Regions from separate parts of the Homo sapiens genome. Here all the other regions are linked to region 2. Evidence: promoter capture Hi-C in 16 types of primary human blood cells and fetal thymus (Javierre and others, 2016). All regions are on one chromosome and are shown on one strand. The core of a region is centred on a gene start or on the middle of the fragment in contact, and the rest is flanking DNA. Distances in the headings are between cores, read along the strand shown. Region 1 overlaps PLEKHA3 (pleckstrin homology domain containing A3). Region 2 holds the start of RBM45 (RNA binding motif protein 45). Region 3 overlaps OSBPL6 (oxysterol binding protein like 6). Region 4 overlaps PRKRA (protein activator of interferon induced protein kinase EIF2AK2).

Region 1 (3,267 bases), core at 128-2,627, 380 kb before region 2:
GGTTTCACTTATTTCTGAAAAGAATATACATAAATATACAGTTAGATCATTTTCATATTCTTTGAGCAATGTAACAAAATGTAATCATTTAAAAAAGCAATGAATATAAATACCTATAGCTCAAGAAATGTGAGACCTTGGAAACAGGATACAAGAGCCCTAAGGAAACATCTTCTCTTCAGATAATTGGGAAAAAGCTGACAGTTATATGCCTGCCATGTTTAGGTGATTTCCAGAGATAGGATGATGACCACTGGATGTTTTATACAGGATATTTCCATTCCATTACTCATCTTCCATTTAAAAAGTGCTTGGTTTTCTTTTGTGAATTGCTTTTTTATTTTGTCCTTTATACATTTTTTCCAGTTCTGATGTTGGTTTTTCTCTTAACAATATAAACTGATAGTTTGTAAAAGTTCTTACAAATTAAAGATAGTAATCTTTCCTCTATCTTATATACTGCAAATACCTTATCCAGATCTGTTAGCTTCCTTTCAGTTTTCTTTATTTTGGCTTACAGAAGTTTTAAATTTTTATGTAATTAAAACTATTGTTTATAAACATTCATTTATTTTCTTCTGTTTCTTTCAGTTTCATTCTCACATTATACTATTTTCAAAATTTTTTATTAAGAGCATACTTTCTTCCTTAGTATGTCCAGACAAACTAAACATCCAGCCATAATCTCAGCCACTCACAAGCCAATACCTTTTAAACTAGAAGTATAAGCTACAGAGGAGGAAAATTCATAGAGTAAATTTCTGGTGCTTCTCCACACTCCCTGGGCCAGGCCCCAGTGGTCTTGCTCTCTGGTCCTAGCCACAAAGCCACTTTTGCCAGAATGGACAAAGCAGCTCTATCTGCGCATTTAATCTAACCTAAATCAATTCCTGCTCATATTTAAGCCTATTCTTTCTCCTTTTTAAAAAAAACTGTGGTAAAGTATACATAAACATAAAATTTACTATTTTAACCACTTTTAAGTATTCACTTCAAAATGTGCCATTAAGTACATTCGTATTTGTAAAATCATCACCACCATCCATCTCCAGAACGTCTTCATCTTCCCCAGCTGAAGGTCTGTACCCACTAAACACTAACCCTGTTTCCACCTCCCCCTGGGCCCTGGAAACCAACATTCTATTTTCTGTCTGTATAAGTATGACTGCCCTGGGTATTTCATATAAGTGGAATCATAGACTATATGTCCTTCTGTGATTAGCTTTTTTTTTTTTTTAATCATTATTATACTTTAAGTTTTAGGGTACATGTGCACAATGTGCAGGTTAGTTACATATGTATACATGTGCCATGCTGGTGCGCTGCACCTACTAACTTGTCATCTAGCATTAGGTATATCTACCAATGCTATCCCTCCCCCCTCCCCCCACCCCACATGATTAGCTTTTTTTACTTATTGTAATGTCTATAAGGTTCATCCACAGTGTAGCATGTGTCACAATTTGCTTTTTAAAGCTGAGTAATATTCTATTGTATATTTTGTTTATCCATTCCTCTACCAATGAACATTTGGGTTATTTCCATCTTTTAGCTATTGTGAATATTCATTCCTTCTTATCCTACCTGTAGCTATATTCTGTAATGTTTTCATATATTTCAAAATTGTTATAAATTCAATCCTCAGCCTTCATTTCTCAATACCTATAATTTACTTGCTTTCACTAATGTAATTAATTTGCATTTAATTATATAAGTAATACATACTTAATAAAAAATTTTGAAAAATAGAAAAAATATAGAAAAGAAAAATCAAATAACTGTACTATGGTTTGAATATCGTTTGTTTCCAGCAAAACTCATGTTGAGTCTGGGTCCCCAGTGTGGCAGTGTTAGGAAAGTAGTACTTTTAACAAGTGATTAGGTCGTCAAAGGAGTGAGTGAGTTCTCAACCTCTTGGGACTAGATTAGTTACTATGAGAGCGGGTTGTTATAAATCGAGGCTGCCTCTTGGGTTTGATCTCTTTCCGCACACACCCGCTTTCCCTTGCTTCCTCCGCCATGCTATGATGCAGCATGAGGCCCTCACCAGAAGCCAACTAGATACAGCTGCCCAATCTTGAACTTCCAGCCTCTAGGGCCATGAGTCATACCTCTTTTCTTTATAAATTACAGTCTCAAGTATTGTGTCAAAGCAACAGAAAATGAACTAAGACAAACTATAATCTCACTATCAAGAAATTGTCATTTTCACATTATATCTGTATATAGTTGAACTAATAACATAAATCATTTGCTTTGCTTTCAGTTTCTAAAAATCTTTTTGAATTGGCAATATGCGTACATGGTAAAGTCAAAAGATACCAAAGGGTATATACAGTGACAACTGAGTCTCCTTCCCACAAATTCCACTTCCAAAGGTAACAATCTGACCAATTCTTACATACCTTTCCTAAGCCAGCCAATGAATACTAACAATACACATAATTCTGAATCCTGCTTTTTTCAATGATCATTTAACCCTGGGCATTTTCTCACATTGAAATTCCTTTTCAACATCTTACTGTCTATATATCAGCCAGTGAAAGCACGAGTTTAGGCTGGGCGCAGTGGCTCATGCCTGTAATCCCAGCACTTTGGGAGGCCGAGGCGAGCGGATTACCTGAGGTCGGGAATTCGAGACCAGCTTGGCCAGCATGGTGAAACCCCGTCTCTACTAAAAATACAAAAATTAGCCAGGCATGGTAGCAGGCACCTGTAATCCCAGCTACTCGGGAAGCTGAGGCTGGAGAATCGCTTGAACCCAGGAGGCAGAGGTTGCAGTAAGCCGAGATCGCGCCATTGCACTCCAGCCTGGGCAACAGAGTGAGACTCCATCTCAAAAAAAAAAAAAAAAAAGAAAGAAAGAGTTTATTGAGCCATTCCCCTAAATTTATAGCTTTTACAAAATGTTTACTATGATAAAGATATACGTAAATCTACATTTCTAATTATTTCCTTGGGATAGATACTAAAAGTGGACAGGCTAATTTAGTTACATTTATATTTATATTTAAGAAAGTACTCTCACCACAAGGGAAAAGTTTATAGTTACCTTTTTCTTTTTTAGTCCTTGTATCAGTCAAACATGCTTTGGAGCTCCCCAGAGCGACCAGCCACCTCTGTCTTTCAGCTGCATTCACTGCCTTCATGTAGAAATGCTGCTCTCCAGGAATGATTAATTCCATTCTTGTGTTGTCTGCTGAATGAACTATGATGATAAACAAAGGGGAAATACAGTTATAGACTTAAGTAATTTAAGGGTAATCA
Region 2 (3,206 bases), core at 672-3,171:
TGGGCTGCCCACAAGGGCTCTGTGGCCATGTTACACTCAAAATATAAAAATCCTCTCCACTAAGGTCATAATTGGACAGCGATAAAATTCATTAGTCTAGTACAGGGGTCAGCAAACCACAGCTCCATTTTTGGTATAGCCCATGATGTAATAATTGTTTTTACAGTTTTTAAGGACTGTAAAAACAGACAAGGTTATGTGACAGAGACTGTATGTGGCCTGCAAAGCCTAAAATATTTACTAGTCAGCCCTTTACAGAAAAAGTTTGCCAATTCCTGATCCTGTATGCTGTGGCCCTACAATTAATTTTGTTGCTGTCACTCTGACACACTTCAGAGGGTTGGAGAAGTGGGAGGAAGGGACTGTTTACTGTGTTGTTGGTAGAGTCCCAGGCTCCTTCTCTTTGGTGGATGGAGCAAGACCTCCAGAGACTGAAATATCTCTGAGCCCTTTATTTACATAAATCCATATTAATACCATTCTCAGTTTGGAAAACAATTTTTTAAAAAATTGAGAAAATATTTTTGTGCAAAGTACCAACAGAATAACATACACAGCAACTATTTACATGGGGCAGACGAAGGCTACAATTTAAGCAATTGCCAGATTCTCAGGATTGAGTCCTGATTTGAGATCACAGGGAGTAAGCTGTGACATCTTGGCTACTACTGATCAATAACAAGGACATTATTGAGGGCTTACCCTGTGTGAGGCACTGTGCTGACAGCACATATTATGTCAAATAACCCTCAAAATGATCCTTCCTGCCATGTGTCATTATCACAATGATTTGGCTCTTCTTAAGGCAGTTTACTTTGGTCTGCTTTCAAAGAAAAGTTGCAGTAACAGAAAGGGTCAAGAACCAAATGTATGCTATTAACACTTTCAGAAACAGAGCTCATTCAAAACAATTTTCCAAAATAACAAAATGTGAAGAATATGTAACAGTGACCGTTTTAAACACCTGCACTTATTCTTTCTGTACATGTATTCTTTCGCCTGGTACTAGGAAAACGTCCAACACCAGAGGTCCCTCCCCAGTTTAAAGTACTTCTGTCAAGTTGTTAACGCCTCATCTGTACCTGAGGAAAAGTAGAGTTTTTCCGTTTTTTATATATGGAAATCTGGGCATCTGAGAGAGGAAGGTCAGAAAAGTACTCAAAGTAGGCTAGGACGAGTTTGGCAGTGAACTCAAGAGCTGGTGGATTAGTGAGGGCGAGGGAGAGGGGAAGCCCAGCCACTGCTGTTCTGTCACCCGGTGGCCGCGGCTGCCGGGTCCGCTCTCGTGGGGCAAACACTCCGCATCCCGTCCCCTTCCCTGCAACCCGGCGCAGCTTCGTGGGAGGGGAGCCTCTCCTCAAAGCAGCCCCTGTCCCCAAGCCAGGTGCTGTCTGGTCAGCTGCCGGGAACGGATGTTCCACTCCTCCCTCACCCCGGCAGAGCAGCAGGTGAAGGGAGGTCCAAGAGGCCCACTCCTTCCCCCGAGGGCACCCCGACCCGGGCACCCGCACCTTGATGGGCTTGGTGTCGTTGGGGCCGAGGCACTGGCCATGCATCTCCTCCATGGCCCTGCAGGCCTGTGAGCTGCGGGCGAACTTGACGAAAGCAATGCCCTTGGACTCCTTGGTGTGCTTGTCCCGCACCACCCAGATGTCCTGGATGTCGCCAAAAGGCGAGAAGCGCTCCCTCAGCACCGACTCAGGTGTGTACTTGCTGATCACAAGGAAGATGCGGCTGTTGGGCGGTTCGTCCAGGCTGTCCACGCCCGGGCGGAAGCCCCCGCCGCTCGCAGAGCTGCCAGCTTCGTCCATGGTGCTCCACCCGAATGCAGGAGCCTCACTGCTCTTTGCTTCTGCGGTGTCTGCCACCGCTGCTGTCTCACACCCAAGCCTTTGCCGGCTCGGTGCTCCGCTTCCGGGAGAAAGAGGAGTCCGGCGCCAGGCGCTGTCCAGCCGCGCAGGATGAGGCCTTCCGGGGAGCGGCCTGCAGCGCCCCCTGGCGACGCGGGGGACCCTGACCCAGTCTAAGTCTCAAATCCTCAAATCCAGCTGAGCCTAGGCCCAAGTTATCAGTTGTGCAATCGTTCCCTGCAGGCAGAACAGCGCTGCCTAATGCACAGGCTTTCCCAACGCTGGCTTTACCCCACCCCTAAGGCCAAGGATTCTTTCCAGTGTTAAAGAAAAAATTATTCATGACACTCGTTAGAGATGGTACAGGAAGGCCGACTTTGACAAAGGGAGCCATGGAGATAGGTCCAGGGACAGCTGCAATGGGGTCTTGCAGTGGGAGAGAGAGATTGGACTGAATTTTGACTCTAATAAGGACAAATTTCTAACCAAGAAGCTTGGTGGGAGGTCAGTGGATGGAAAATTACAAAGAGGGAACATCAGTGTTAAGGAGGATTCTGGCTAAACCAACTTGACAGGATAGTTGCTGAAGGCAGGCCAGGGTGATTGATATCCATGGTAGTCAGACACCAAGAATGAGGATTTTCACTACACTGATTCAGCAGGATTCTTGCTCAAATTGGATTCTACAAGGACAGAAAGCCCAAGATCAAGCCTAGTCAAGCAGAGGACTCAAAGGAGCCTAACTAAGTTTTGGTCAAAGTGGAGAGTTGTCACCATCTTGGTCATAAGCTCAATAGATGATCAATATAGGACAGAGTTCAAACTATATAGCATTAGAGTTGGAAGGAAGCTTTGAGATCATTCAATTTCAGCGTCATTTGTTAGAGATGAGGAAACTGAGGCCTATAGCATAGCCAAAGTAATAGAGATAAAAAGTACGACTAAAACCAGAACTAACTTGGCCAGGCGCAGTGGCTCACGTCTGTGATCCCAGCACTTTGGGAGGCCGAGGCGGGCGGATCACGAGGTCAGGAGATCGAGACCATCCTGGCTAACACGGTGAAACCCCGTCTCTACCAAAAAAATACAAAAAAATTAGTTTGGCGTGGTGGCGGGCACCTGTAGTCCCAGCTACTCAGGAGGCTGAGGCAGGAGAATGGTGTGAACCCAGGAGGCACAGCTTGCAGTGAGCAGAGTTTGCACCACTGCACTCCAGCCTGGGGGATAGAGCGAGACTCCACCTCAAACAACAACAACAACAACAAAAAACCCAGAACTAACTCCATCTGTTGATTTACTCAACTTCTACAAGCAACCCTGGGGTTGGAGGGCAGTGAGGGTGGACTGCTCAGCTGT
Region 3 (3,293 bases), core at 481-2,980, 280 kb before region 2:
TTTTTCTCATTCTCATCTTGAAGTCCTCATCAGAGTGTCAGGCTACCTCTGACCAACATTCACTCACCTGATTTGTACCATGACCTTACTGTCTGGTAAAGATCCTTTCTACTATTTTTTCTTTTTTGTAATTATAACCCAAATTGCTAAGTACAGTCGTTGCTTCCCTGATGGGTCCTGGATCCTCTTCCAGCTACCTGATACCACATCTGATGGTCAGCTGCTGCTCCCTTTCCTTCATCTCTGCTTGTAAAAACCTTTACTTTGCAGGATTGTTTTCTTATGTTTAGGCTATTTTGAGACTGTTCAGGGAAGTGCTAGTAAGTACAGACCAGAACCACTTTAAATAGTATTTAAAGCTTTATCAACCATAGGAGAACAGACTCCCGTGAGGAAGTCAATAGGATTCTTATTAAAATTAACGACATGTATCTCAGGATGCAGAAAAAGAACATCAAGATGAATGAGCAGAAAAAGAATCAATATCAAGGGGAAGATTTTACTGCCGCAGGGCAAGCCACCTATGGATTTAAAATGGGAATGAGAGGAATAGAGAGGGTATTGTTGAAGCAGAATGCTTAGATCTGGTGATGGATTCGAAAATTTACCTGAGAATGAAATTCCATTCTAAGCTAATGCAGACTGTACACATAACATAAAAACTCAGATGCAAGGGAGGAGTTTTGGATAAATAAAATATTGCGCCATCTAGTGGAAACGTTAGCGCTTTCTCTTACACTCTCATCAGCAGTTTTTCATTTGATGGTGTATTAGCCATTATTAGGAATGCTTTGCTGAGGAGAAATACCACTAAAATCAACACCTCATAATAAAATGTAAAGTGTCTGTAACTGTATCAGAGTTTTAAATAACACTTAAATTCTAATGGTAAGAATCCAAGAATAAACATCTAACTAACAATAAAATATATGTAATTTTATAATTCCCTAGGAAAATCTCTGAGGAGATATTTTAAAAAAAACATACAGGCATTTATATAGTCACCTACGTGCAGAAACAGGAATACTGATGCAAGTTTTCTGCAAAAGCCTCTGTATATTAGTGGAGGAAAAACAAATCCTGAAGTATGCAAAACACACTTCTGCTTTCCTGCTTTGGGATGGATACATTCCTTAGCTTAAGTTTCATATCTCTGCCAATAGCAAGGTAAATGCTTAATATGTAGCCATGTACCATATGGAATCACTTGATGAAAATTTGAAATATGATTTTGCATAGAATTCATTTAAACAATGCAAATAAACTACTATTATTCTTGCTTCTGTTCTCAGTGGAATTCGACTAGTGTCAGTGGAGCGGGCATGGGATTGAGACATGGATTACATGGTGCTTCACTCAAAAACAATTACATTTATAGTACTACTAAGCCCACACAGGAATTCCATATGCTTTTTGTTATTTCCTTTTAAGGTTTTAACACTGATGACCAAATGTCCAAATCAAAGACAGATTTTTCCAAATAATAGGGCACACTGTGAGGTTAGGTGGAAGAGGGATGGTTTATTATCTGGACGCAGGACAGGAAATTAACGAGCCACGTAAATACAGAGATCTACTTAGCACGTCTTTTCCTTCTTTCCCTTCAGACATACCATATGGTAACTGACTTATCAGAGTAAAGCACGTGTTGTTCACTTTTAAAAAACCCATTTAAGTTAGTCTCATAATTGTCCTGATTGAGAAAGTGAATCATGCCATGATTCAAAAAATCTGTTCTTCACATAAACCTATGAGCACACATTTTAAAAATGATTTATTGTACATCTTTGCATTTCTTAAGGCATGAACAATGGCATACAGATGGAACAGGTTCTGAGAAGCATCACATCTTTTTCGACAAGGCCAGCACAATCACACCACATCAAACAGACACACTTGAAGTCTGCACTGACCGACTGCTTGTGGCCCAGGAGTCCTGCGATAGGGGATGGTGCTTCCAGACAGTGGAACAATCGTGTGGTTTCTATGTTGTTGTTAACTTTCTTGATCAGCTTTAAGCACCAGTTACCATTTGTTTTTCTTTACAAACTGGTCAGACTTTGGATTTTATATTCTGCTCCTTTTATTCTGCTTTCCAAGGACGGTGTGGATTTTTTTTTTTTTTTTTTTTTTTTTTTTAAGGAATATGGTTGCAGCAAAACAGAAAGGATCCCAAAGTGGTTAGGGGCCTTGTCTAATGCACTTCTGAAAGTCCATTATAAAGATGAATAGAAAAGCAAATGGTAGGTTTTCAGTTGACCCAGAAACCACACATAGCTATAAGAAACATAATTGTGCATAGTTATTTATTCATTCAGAATGTGATATGTTGGCTAGCTCTACATTCCCAGTCTACCAAAGAACAGGGCTGTCTACTTTGCTAAACCCAGGGTCCTTTCGAAGCTCCCAGTAGGTGTCGTTAGAAACCCAGGCTTCTCTTTGATTGGCATCAATAACTTTTCTGTGAAAATATAAACATCAACATTAGTCATGAATCACATCAAGGTAACCTTAAATAGGACCCTCTCCTATAGATTAGACATGGACATATAAGCAGTGTTTGTAAGCCAGTTAGTATCTTATCTGCTAGCTACTGATGATGTGACTATTTTTGACTGGAAGTGAAGTCATTTTTGTTGTTAAATGTGTGAAATGGAAGTAGGTAGGGCCAGGGGGAGAGGAACTCAGGGCAGGAACAAATTACCTCCTGGCAGGGGTAAAAAGTAAATAGCCCCCAATAAAGCATATACAAATACTGTAACTAAGAGCTTCAGGTCCCAGACCCACAAGAATCCTTTCTCCTTCACTAAAAGTATGCAATATCAGTAGCTCTAAGAGCCCCTACTGGGCCCATGTCCAAGGAGCACATTTTAGACATCTGAAGGGCAAGGCTGCATTTCTACCCCAGGGCAGTAATGACAGGACAAGTCTAAAGGAGATAAGGTTACCCTGAGCTTTTTGTCCTGGCTCTGGAGGGCAACAGATGCATTTGGAAACCTCAGATTAATCTGTGTGATGTATATATAATCCTGCAAATAATCCTGTAATAATCACCTACTATCATACCACAGAGAGACCAAATCTAAACACACACAAGCTTTGTGTGATAGAAATAAAATGAAATCCTAATAAAAGCCAGGATGATCTTGTGGGCAGTGGGGTCTGGTTCAGTCCCTGGCTAAGGGAGTGGGAACCAGTTTCCACCATTCTAAAGAGTGCAGCTGAAGGACAAAGAGCCTTCTGGGCAGGATGCTCACTCTTTTCTGCTGCCCATGAAAAGAGAAGAGCTGTAG
Region 4 (3,308 bases), core at 649-3,148, 320 kb before region 2:
CATGCCGCTGCTCTCCAGCCTGGGTGACAGAGTTAGACTTGTCTCAAAAAAAAAAAAGAAAAGAGGCTGGAGGCCAGGTGCGGTGGCTCACACCTGTAATCCCAGCACTTTGGGAGGCCAAGTCGGGCAGATCACCTGAGGTCAGGCGTTTGAGACCAGCCTGACCAACACGGTGAAACCCTGTCTCTACTAAAAATACAAAAATTAGCCAGACAAGGTGGCGTGCACCTGTAATCCCAGCTACTCGGGAGGCTCAGGTGGGAGAATCACTTGAACCCGGGAGGCAGAGGTTGCAGTGAACCGAGATCGCGCCACTGCACTCCAGCCTGAGTGACAGAGTGAGACTCTGTCTCAAAAAAAAAAAAAGAAAAGGTGGCTGATGAGAGACCATTCATCCAATAAATATTTATTACTGTCTACAGTTCATTGAGGGTTTAGAATACAGAGATGAACGACCCATGTCATGAATAGGACTATGGAGGATACAGAATCTGGGGGAAAAAAGGAAACCCAAGATAAATTTTTAGATTATGAATTAATGATGCCTCTGAAACATTTCTTCCCAGTTTTGAGAACTAAATAGTTCTTGTAGATATGGAAAGCCATCTAAAAACCACAGTCTGTTAATTTGGCTAGTTTATATGCAGCTACCTTCAAAAGAACCTAGATATTCTCCAAAGGAGATATACAAATGGGCTGGGCAAAGTGGCTCACACCTGTAATCCCACCCCTTTGGGAGACTGAGGCATGAGCATCGCTGGAACCCAGGAGTTTGAGACCACCTGGGCAACATAGTGAGAGCCTGTCTCAAAATTTTAAAATTAAAAAAGAAAAATGACCAAATGACCAAAAAATACATGAAAAGATGCTCGATATCATTAGTCAATAGAGAATGCAATCAAAACCACGATAATAAGGTACCACTTCAAATCCACTAGGATGGCTATCATTAATGAAATGGAAAATAGCAAGTGTTGGTGATGATGTAGATAAACTGGAACCTTACACGTTGCTGGTGGGAATATAAAACAGTTCAGCCTCCATGGAATAAGCTTCTCAGTTCCTCAAATGAATTGCCATATGACCCAGCAACTCCACTCCTAGGAGTATAAATAAAAAACTGGTATTTAAACAAATGCCTATACACACAGGTATCTGTATATTCATAGCAGCACCATTCACAAAAGCCAAAAGGTAGAAACAGCCCAAAACATCCATCAGTGAATAAGTGGATAAACAAATTGTGGACTGTCCTTCCAATGAAATATTATTCAGCTGTAAAAAGAAACGAAGTTCTGATACATTCTACAACATGGATGAGCCTCAAGCAGAAGCTGGAGGGTCAGGAGAAAAGAACCTAGATACTAGAACTAGAAAGCCTCTTTACTCATTAAATAATCCCATTGTATCTGGATATTTTCCACTAAATAGAGTATCAAAAATAACATTTTTATTATGCCTACTTCAAATAAATCATACCGCACACGTTTCTATTTCTTCCTCTTTGCCCTCATTTCAGCCATCTTTAGTAAGAGTGGCTCATCAGTTGATGGGAAGAACGTTTGTTTCCTGGGTCAGGTATTGTTTTTAAAATACCATGACCCATTTACAGTATAAATAAAGAACTAGACTCTGCACAGACTTAAAACCTAGGAACATGAATGGACAACAGCATAAATACATACAATTATTATGTATCAATTAAACATTTTTTTTTAATAGAAGACACAAGGGAGGTTTTGCCTTGACCGAAGTTATTCCTGGTTCAAATGCCTCCTGAAAATGACTTCCTAGTGGAAAATACAATCTCTCCAGTCCTCTAGCAAATGGTTCTTTCCCTTTTGAGAAAGTTACTGTGTGGTTCAGTAATTTCCAAATAGTGTTCAACTAACTATATTAGAATTGCCTTGGGAGCTGTTATTTTTTTAAGTGTAGGAATCAGCCACCCCCAACTGTATATTTCTGATTGAGTGAGCTAGAGTGCAGCCTAGATATCTGTATGTCTTTAACACTGTCAGATCATTATGAAGTGTAATGTGTTTGAAAACTGCTACAGCTGAGCAGTTGTGGTTTTTTGTTTGTACAAGCAAAACAAAGATTGCGAGTGGTGTAGTATACCATGGAGGCTTAAAAAGAAAGACAATAATAAGAATTGTATTGTTTTTACAAAGGGATCCACTTTATACATATTGGACATTAATCGTCATCCTTGAATGTGTCATTACAGATGAACTGAGCGCCAATGGACAATATCAATGTCTTGCTGAACTGTCCACCAGCCCCATCACAGTCTGTCATGGCTCCGGTATCTCCTGTGGCAATGCACAAAGTGATGCAGCTCACAATGCTTTGCAGTATTTAAAGATAATAGCAGAAAGAAAGTAAATCTGGAGCAACTTAAAAAATCTTTCAGTAGCACATAAAAAGTTCCCCTCTGGCCCCTTCCCAAGTAAAACTTTTACCGTAGTGTTTATGTCTTGTTTCTAAATCTCTTCATAGATTCCATCAACACTCCAGATTTAATTATCTCCTCATAGTTGTTATTAAGCTCTTTTTAATGGCTTCAACTTTGTATCAGTATACTGTATTTATAAACTTTGTACCACAAGAGAGAGTGTAGCACCCATTTTACAGTGCCATGCACATCAGAGAAAGAAACTGCATGTTTGTTGTTGATGATGAAATAAAAATGCTAGCGACAGTCTTTCTTACTGGTGCTTAAGCTCTTCTTTGCACAAAGCTTTATAAAGGGAATTCAAAGGAAGCCCTTTAGAATTAGAGTCTTGAGGGACAGCACTAACAGGCCTTTATTAAGTATGATTGATTGTTAAATTTCAGGGAACATGATTGGTCTGCTGTGTATTTGAATTCATGTAACAAAGAACTGTTACGATGGGATTCTGCTCATTTTATTAAAAAGCTACTGACTTGACTGTCATCCTGTTCTTGTTAGCCATTGTGAATAAGATTTTAATGTTGATAATTCTGTTATTTACATATCTCTAATTTACTTTGAAATTCAAAGGTGAAAATAAAAAATGATGGCCTAAGTAAAATTTACAAACATACATGTAATGGGTTACTTCCTTACTTTCTCTAAGCGTATGCAACCTTGTATTTTTCTTTGACATAACCATACACAGGTGAATTACTAGTTTAAAAAGCATTTGACCATGCATGTTGGCTCATGCCTATAATCCCAACTCTTTCGGAGGCCAAGGTGGGAGGATCCCTTGAGGCCAAAAGTTTGAGACCAGCCTGGGCAACATAGTGAGTCCCCATCTCTACCAAAAAGAAAATCAGGTGTG

Evidence for each region. Contacts are between HindIII fragments. The CHiCAGO score rates a contact against its expected background, and 5 or more counts as called.
Region 1: a fragment that was not itself captured here is called in contact with the fragment with the promoter of RBM45 in region 2 in 1 of 17 cell types (erythroblasts); the score reaches 9.1 in erythroblasts.
Region 3: a contact is called between a fragment that was not itself captured here and the fragment with the promoter of RBM45 in region 2, in 7 of 17 cell types (erythroblasts, megakaryocytes, M0 macrophages and 4 more). The highest score is 14.9, in erythroblasts.
Region 4: a contact is called between a fragment that was not itself captured here and the fragment with the promoter of RBM45 in region 2, in 3 of 17 cell types (megakaryocytes, endothelial precursors and M0 macrophages). The highest score is 9.8, in megakaryocytes.

What each region holds. Positions count from the first base shown.
Region 1 is chr2:178,490,600-178,493,866 of GRCh38, reverse strand. It overlaps PLEKHA3 (pleckstrin homology domain containing A3), which reads right to left. Exons shown (of 8, transcript NM_019091.4): 3 at 3,053-3,208; 4 at 1-14. Among named protein-coding and RNA genes, the nearest start is that of PLEKHA3, 12 kb to the right of the region's middle. The HindIII fragment of the contact is 5,507 bases long and covers 1-3,267 here.
Region 2 is chr2:178,111,152-178,114,357 of GRCh38, reverse strand. It overlaps RBM45 (RNA binding motif protein 45), which reads right to left and starts at 1,921. Exons shown (of 10, transcript NM_152945.4): 1 at 1,512-1,921. The coding sequence starts at 1,811. RefSeq lists an enhancer at 1,716-1,885. The HindIII fragment of the contact is 3,392 bases long and covers 1-2,345 here.
Region 3 is chr2:178,394,619-178,397,911 of GRCh38, reverse strand. It overlaps OSBPL6 (oxysterol binding protein like 6), which reads right to left. Exons shown (of 25, transcript NM_032523.4): 25 at 1-2,461. The coding sequence ends at 2,353. Among named protein-coding and RNA genes, the nearest start is that of CHROMR, 17 kb to the left of the region's middle. The HindIII fragment of the contact is 2,738 bases long and covers 362-3,099 here.
Region 4 is chr2:178,431,174-178,434,481 of GRCh38, reverse strand. PRKRA (protein activator of interferon induced protein kinase EIF2AK2) reads left to right here. Exons shown (of 8, transcript NM_003690.5): 8 at 2,228-3,068. The coding sequence ends at 2,385. It overlaps CHROMR (cholesterol induced regulator of metabolism RNA), which reads right to left. Exons shown (of 5, transcript NR_110204.1): 4 at 1,007-1,100. Among named protein-coding and RNA genes, the nearest start is that of PRKRA, 18 kb to the left of the region's middle. The HindIII fragment of the contact is 1,688 bases long and covers 1,055-2,742 here.